Linked DNA regions of Homo sapiens: region 1 is linked to region 2. Evidence: promoter capture Hi-C in human tissues and cell types (Jung and others, 2019). All regions are on one chromosome and are shown on one strand. Each heading gives the region's core, a stretch centred on a gene start or on the middle of the fragment in contact. The rest is flanking DNA. Distances are from core to core; before and after follow the strand shown.

What was found. Contacts are between HindIII fragments. The study calls those that stand out against the background at their distance.
Region 1: the fragment with the promoter of SOX10 here is called in contact with the fragment with the promoter of GALR3 in region 2 in 2 of the 25 tissues and cell types used here (adrenal gland and dorsolateral prefrontal cortex).

What each region holds. Positions count from the first base shown.
Region 1 is chr22:37,982,763-37,986,427 of GRCh38, reverse strand. SOX10 (SRY-box transcription factor 10) reads left to right here and starts at 1,873. Exons shown (of 4, transcript NM_006941.4): 1 at 1,873-2,089; 2 at 2,560-3,071. The coding sequence starts at 2,644. It also overlaps a transcript of POLR2F not described here. RefSeq lists enhancers at 1-812, 2,767-3,604. The HindIII fragment of the contact is 28,697 bases long and covers 1-3,665 here.
Region 2 is chr22:37,820,990-37,824,955 of GRCh38, reverse strand. GALR3 (galanin receptor 3) reads right to left here and starts at 1,574. Exons shown (of 2, transcript NM_003614.2): 1 at 1,191-1,574; 2 at 1-233. The coding sequence starts at 1,549. The HindIII fragment of the contact is 28,947 bases long and covers 1-3,966 here.

The DNA of each region.
Region 1 (3,665 bases), core at 624-3,123, 160 kb before region 2:
ACCACCCCTCCTGCCCCAGGCGGGTCTCAGGCCAGTCACAGACACAGCAGAGAGCGGGGAGGTCCTTTCCTCAAAGAGGAGGAACTGAGGGGTGGAAGGATGAGTGGGGACCCACCGGGAGAGAGAGATGCCAGGCAGGCAGGCAGCGGGCGGGCAGCAGCGGGTGTTGGAGGCGACTGCAGGGCAGCCGGGACACGACGGCAGATGCTCGTCCCTCGTCCCTCTGTCCATCCAGGGCGGCTCCTCTCCGGGCGGTTCTGAGGCCGAGCGGGCGCTGTTAAAAAGCTTTTTATGTGTGTGTGTGTTAATCACATGATTGCCGTTCACCTGTATTTCGAACAAAGACAGCTCACTGTTTCAAGGCCCCGAACAAGAGTCTGGGCACAGGGAAGAGAAGGGAGGCGGGGGGAGGAGGGTTGGCAGCGCCGGGGGTGGCGTCGAGGAAAACTGGGGGGAGATTGTCCAAGGCCAGCAAGCGAGAGAAAGAGAAAACCCTTATCAAACTCCTAATTCACTGGGCTCCGAGGCCCCAGACACACTGGCCCGATTGTCTGGCTGGTTGTGTGTGTGAGCATGTGTGTGTGTGTGTGTGTGTGTGTGTGTGTGTGTTCCAGTGTCTGCTCCCCCCACCCCCAACATGCCTCTGCCTCGTGTGACTACCTCATTGTGTCCCATTTCCCACCCCCTACACCCCTTTGGACTTTCCCAAGCATGAGGCCTTGCCTCCCCAGACCCTTTGCAGCCCACTCCAGACAGGACCCCTTGGGGTGGTCTTGGGGCTTTGCCCTGCTGTTGAGGAGCTCAGAACGTCACATGGTTGCCAATGCGACCCCAGCTCCATTACATAACCCACATACACCCCACCTCGGCCTCAACACCCCGGCGGGGCTGCCCTCAGTTAAGAGAACAGCACTGCGACCTTTGGAGGAGAGGCCAAGGAAAGAGAGAGAAAAAGGTGTCAACGGAGGATGGGCAGGAAAGAAAAGGGGAGGGAGGGAGAGGTGGGCAGAGGAGGGAAGAGGCAGGGCAAGTCCCCACCCCTTGTTGGGGTGGGGGAGTAGAGGACTTCGTGACAATCAGGACTAGGACTCCCCTACCCTCTCCCAAGACAGGGTGAGCCCAGTGTGGAAGGAGCTGGGTCCCAGTAGGTAGCAACCCAAAATGCCTCTAAGACCTACTGAGAGAGGGCCCCCAACCTGTCCCACCTTGGCCTCCTGGCAGCTTTAGTCTTGTGTTTCCACCTTGAACCAGACCAGAACGCGCGTGTGCTGGGTGTCTGCAGAGAAGGGACCAGGGGTCAAGCTGGGGCTCTGCACTTCTCAGAGGGATCCCTGAGAAGTCTCTCTTACTGTGCAGGATGGGGCAGAAAGGGCTGCCTGGGAAAAGGTAGGAGGCAGGGTGAGGAGCTGGGCATCAGTGCCTGGCACACACTAGGCACTCAACAGGATTTCGCAGACGAAGCAGCTAGGGCCAGCCACCCTCACGGGCCCCCAGGACCCTCACCGCCTTCACGTCTCTCCCTAGTCCCCTGCCAAGTGCCCATCCTGCCACCTGAGGCAGACGTTAGGAGTCCTGGTTGGGCCCAATTTTCTTCCATCCAACAGGTTCTGACCCTCCAGCCTACATCTCTTCCTTCCTCGGCCTAACCTCCCCTCCACCTCCCAGACTAAGCCCAAGATAAGCCTCAGCAAGATGGGCCTGGGCAGTAGGGCAGGGAGCTGGGTGGGGGGGCCTGGGCTCCGGGTGGAGGAGCCCTGAGTGTTGGGGATGAAGGAAAGCCTGGAGGCTCCACCTTCTGCCCTTCCCTCCCTCCTCTCCCCTCCCCCCTCTCCCCCTCCTTCCTTCCCCAGCCCTCCGCAGCGGCTCAGGCTCAGTCGCTCAGTCAGTCTCGGGCTGTCCGGCCAGGGTGGTTGGTGGTAAGGATTCAGGCTCCGTCCTAACGAGGCCGTGGCCTGAGGCTCAGGGCCCCCCGCCCCTCCCTCCCAGCCCACCAGCGTCACCTCCCAGCCCCGAGCTGGACCGCACACCTTGGGACACGGTTTTCCACTTCCTAAGGACGAGCCCCAGACTGGAGGAGAGGTCCGAGGAGGTGAGTGCGCAGCCTGCTCCTCCCTGGCCCGCCCAGGCCTGGGACCCTGCTGTGAGGTGGAGAGAGGCGACACCCCGCCCTTGCCCCCCACCTGGCTCTCCTCTAAACCCCGTTGGGGCAGGCTGAGGGAAGAAGGAAAGGTGAGAGAAAAGGTGGGAAATTCCAGGGGCCGGGATTAGAGCAAAATAAAGGCTCCGTTTTTTTCTTCCTTATCATCAACAAACCTCCACCCAAAAAAGGAGGCTAAAAAAAAAGCCACCCACACCAAGAGACGGTTGGGACCAGGTGGTGGGAAGACACAGAGGCGGGACGCACCCACCTAGAGTCTGGCATGTGCGTGGGCCCCAGGGGCCAGATGGGTTTAGCTGGAGCAGGAAGGGCCGCCACCTCGGGGCTGTGCCCACGTCCTGTCTCGGGCCGCCCTCGGGGCTGCGCGCGCGGCCGCTCCATCGCGCCCTCCTTCCATCCAGGTGGGCGTTGGACTCTTTGCGAGGACCCCGGCGGCTGGCCCGGGGGAGGCGGCCGAGGCGGCGGCGGCGGCGGCCGGGGGCGACATGGCGGAGGAGCAGGACCTATCGGAGGTGGAGCTGAGCCCCGTGGGCTCGGAGGAGCCCCGCTGCCTGTCCCCGGGGAGCGCGCCCTCGCTAGGGCCCGACGGCGGCGGCGGCGGATCGGGCCTGCGAGCCAGCCCGGGGCCAGGCGAGCTGGGCAAGGTCAAGAAGGAGCAGCAGGACGGCGAGGCGGACGATGACAAGTTCCCCGTGTGCATCCGCGAGGCCGTCAGCCAGGTGCTCAGCGGCTACGACTGGACGCTGGTGCCCATGCCCGTGCGCGTCAACGGCGCCAGCAAAAGCAAGCCGCACGTCAAGCGGCCCATGAACGCCTTCATGGTGTGGGCTCAGGCAGCGCGCAGGAAGCTCGCGGACCAGTACCCGCACCTGCACAACGCTGAGCTCAGCAAGACGCTGGGCAAGCTCTGGAGGTGAGCACCCGACCGCCCCCCGGGCTCGGGCCCTCTAGCTTCGGGTGGATTCAGGGTAGCCGAGGCGGCCCGGCCTCCTGCACCTCAGAGCGGGACTGTCTGGCAGTCCTCCTTGGATAGGGCTGGAAGACCAGGTGTGGGGGCCGCGCCCGCCCTTCCATCACAAGGACCCTGGAACTCGGAACTCCAGCGGCCTAGGCCGGGTCTCCCTACGGGGCGGCGGGCAGGAAGGCGCCCCCTCGTGGTTGGAATTTTGCGGGTGGCAGACCGTGGGGCCTGGGGCTTTGGAGGGAGGGAAGGAGGCCTTCACTAACTCCTGCCCACAGATACGCACACTATGCCACCAGCTGCTGTGGTCAGGAGGATACGAGGGAAACGCTTGGAAAGAACCAAAGGGTTGGCTGGAGATTCAGGGAAACTGAGGCAGTCAGATGGAGAACTCAGGGGAGGTTTAAAGAAAACGGAATTCAGATGAGAGTCTTTGGAAGAGTGAGGGATGAAGAACTGCGGGACAAATCTGCTGCTGCGGGACCTCATCCTATCCTAGGGCTCTTCCCTGGGACTTTCTGACGCCACCCTCCTTTGAGTTGGGGG
Region 2 (3,966 bases), core at 325-2,824:
CCACGGGCAGCAGGTAGCCGGCAGCGAAGGTGGCCACGTCCAGGGCGCGGCGGCGCGCGTCCTCCCAGGCGGGCACGCAGAGCTCCAGCGCGCCGTAGCGCACGGTGCCGTAGTAGCTGAGGTAGGGCGCCGAGAAGAGCGCCGCCAGCAGCCACACCAGCCCCACTGCGGCGCGGGCGTTACGCGGCGTGCGCAGGGCGCGCGAGCGCAGCGGGTGCCGCACGGCCAGGTACCTGCGGAGGGCGCCTGGTCAGCGGGGCGGGCAGGTGCCCTCCCGCAGGGGCCCGCGCCACGTCCCGCGCCCGGGCCCTGCGGCCCAGTGCGCCTCCTGTGAACCGTGGGGGACGTGGCGGGGATTAAGGGTGTGAACGCGCAAGGTGCTTAGGCCCTTGCACCTAGCAAGGGCCCGATCCCGGTGACTTGTTATTTCTAGGATTATTTTATGGATGCGTCAGATGAGGTCCAGAGAGAAGTGACTTGCCCAGGGTCATCAGCTGGAGTGAGCCTGGATTTGACCCCAAGTTTCAAGCTGTGGAAGCAGATGTGTGCACAGCTTGGCCAGGTGTGGGCAGTTAGAAAATAGCTGGGCTGGGCGCGGTGGCTCACGCCTGTAATCCCAGCACTTGGGAGGCCGAGGCGGGCGGATCACTTGAGGTCAGGGGTTCGAGACCAGCCTGTCCAACATGGCAAAACCCCGTTTCTACTAAAAATACAAAAAATTAGCCAGGTGTGGTGGCCTGTAATCCCAGCTACTCAGGAGGCTGTGGCAGGAGAATCGCTGGAACCCAGGAGGCAGAGGTTGCAGTGAGCCAAGATCCAAAAAAAAAAAACAACAAAACAAAACAAAACAAAAAAACTGATGAACGCATTCGTGAGCTTCTTTTGCGATTCATTTCGCGCTTACAGAGCACTTACTATGTGCCAGACCCTGTGCTGCCACTTGAGACTCAGAGGCGTCCTCTGGAAGTTCACAGTGGAGGAGGGGAAGGGCAGGACAGTCCCCTCAAGCACGCCCTGCAGGTGCCCAGAGGCTGCTTGCGAGGGGTCAGGGAGCTTTTGTTTCCTCCCACCCACCTCCCTTTCTGGTCCCCCACTCTCTCCTTCCTAAGGCCAGTGAGGATCTGTTCAGGACTCCTCCCCCAACCCCCGCCCCCACAGCCCTGCCCAGCCAGGCCCCAGGCACAGCGCACCTGTCCACGGAGACAGCAGCCAGCGTAAAGCTGCTGGCGTACATGGTGAGGTAGATGAGCAGGTGCACGGCCTTGCAGACGAGGGCCCCAAAGAGCCAGGCATCCAGCGTGTAGATGGTGGCCTGGAAGGGCACGCAGCACAGGATGAAGCAGAGGTCAGCCACCGCCAGGTTGAGGATGAACAGGTCCGTGGTGCTGCCAGGCTCCTGCCAGGCACTCGGGCCAGGCTGCAGGAGCACTGCCAGCACCAGCCCATTGCCCACTGTGCCCAGCAGGAAGATTAGGGCAAAGACCACAGGCACTGCCACGGCCCCCACACTCCCTGGGCTGTCCAGTGAAATGTTCTGGGCATCAGCCATCTCCCCATCAGACGGGCACCTGGGAAGAGAAGCTGGAATCCTCAGGCAAGAGCCCCCAGTTCTGGTTGCTTGACCCCGGGATCTAACTCCCCCGACCTGGGTCTGGCCAGGTGTTCTGGGCTGGAAGCTCGTGGGAGATGGAGGAGGGGAGAGCAGAGCCAAAGTCATCGCTGAGTGTCACTGTGTGAGCAAGCTCGTGGTGTTCAAGGGGTGAGAGTTCCTCAGTTTCCTAAGGAACACCCCTGGAGTCCTGCCTGGAGGACTACCTAGGTATTTGAGGGACACTTTCAACCCACGAGGCTGGGGAAGGCACAAGCGAAGTAGGATGAAGATATGGCGATGGGGGGAGGGGCCAAACCCAGAAACTGGTATGTTTTCCTTCTCAATGGGGATCTGAAGCTCAGGGGAGACCCTGGGACATGGGTTTAGGGCTTTCTCTGGCTACAAGCTGTAGCCTTAGCAAAACACGGGTAACATCCCTGAGTCATTGGAGGGTCCAGTATAGTGAGATCATCACAATGGCAAAACTGGGAAGACCGTGTAGGTCACTGCTTCCTCTCTGCACATAGGGAAATTGAGGCCCAGAGAGGGGACATGGGAGGATAATATCACACTCGAAATGGCAGCTCTGGGGCTGTTGCCACCCTGGTATCCTGCCTCTTAAGCTAGAGTGCTCATCTGAGAGCTTGTAACAGGTGGTGCCTCTGACAACTTGTGTGTGTGCACACCGCACCCATGCTCACCCCCATCCCACTCTACAGCCCATGTCTCCTACTGCCTGTGGATCTCCTTGCAGGCTTGAGACCACTGGGGTGGTGGGACAAAGTAGGGGAAAGGGGGGTCAGGCAGGGAGTAGGGAAGAAAGGCAATGTCTGCCCCCATCCCAGCACCCAGCATGCAGTAGGTCCCCAAAGCCCAGGATGGGCAACACCCACCTCCGCCTTGGGCAGTGGGCTTGATCCTGGGTGGAATGGCCGGGCTGGGTGGGCCTCCTGATTCAGCGGCTGCCCCTTGGTGCCTCCCTGCAGGTACTGGTCTGCCTTCTACTTCTCCCCCTTTGCCTTTAAGGCCCCTCCTCTCCTCTGCCCCCTCTGCTGAGCCGGAGTTGGGCACTCCCTCTGGAGTAGCCACTGGCCACTTCCTCCTCAGTCCCTGATTTCCCCCAGGTGGCAGGCTCTTCTGCCTGGCTCTTCTCTGCCTCTCTGCGTTGCTGCTGCCTTTTCCTCTCTCTGCAGCCAGTAACCCATTGATCTCGCTCTCTGTGATTTGCTTTGTAGTTAACCCCTCTGTGCCCAGGGCCCAGCCAGTCTCTGGCACTCCCACCTCCTGTGGCCCAGCCTGATGTGACTCCATCCCCTATCCCTGCACCTTCTTGCTCCAATCCATGTTTAGAAAAGGTTCCTAGGCCGGGCATGGTGGCTCACGTCTGTAATCCCAGCACTTTGGGAGGCTGAGGCAGGCAGATCACTTGAGGCCAGGAATTCGAGACCAGCCTGGCCAATGTGGCGAAACCTTGTCTCTACTAAAAATACAAAAATTAACTGAGCGTCGTGGCGGGCGCCTGTAATCCCAGCTACTCTGGAGGCTGAGGCAGGAGAATCGCTTGAACCTGGGAGGTGGAGGTTGCAATGAGCCGAGATGACGCCACTGCACTCCAGCCCAGGTGATGGAGTGAGACATTGTCTCAAAAAAAAAAAAAAAAAAAAAAAGAAGAGGCTGGGCGCGGTGGCTCATGCCTGTAATCCCAGCACTTTGGGAGGCCAAGACAGGTGGATCATGAGGTCAGGAGTTCAAGACCAGCCTGGCCAAGATGATGAAACCCCATGTCTACTAAAAATACAAAAATTAGCTGGGTGTGGTGGCGGGCACCTGTAATCCCAGCTGCTCGGGAGGCTGAGGCAGAGAATTGCTTGAAGCCAGGGGTTGGAGGTTGCAGTGAGCCAAGATCGTGCCACTGCACTCCAGCCTGGGCGACAGAGCGAGATTCCGTCTCAAAAAAAAAAAAAAAAAAAAAAAAAAAAAGGATTCCTAGTCTTGACTGGGGTTTCCTGGAGTGGGAAACCAGGACTTGAGTCTCCTTTCGGCAGACTCCAGAGACTCCTCCCTCAGGCTCTGCAAATCCTGAGATCCTTCTCCGGAAGCTCTTTCCAGAGCCTTAGTCCAGCTGGAGCCCAGATGGTTTAGGTACCTGTCCAAAAAGTCTGGCTTTACCTGATAGCAACGGGGAACTACTAAGATTCTACAGCAGAGACATGACCCGCACATTTTCTTTCTTTCTTTCTTTTTTTCCCCCCACATTATCTTTTGTAAAAAGTTTGTTATGGGCCAGGCGCAGCGGCTCACACCTGTAATCCTAGCACTTTGGGAGGCTGAGGTGGGCGGATCATCTGAGGTCAAGAGTTCGAGACCAGACTGGC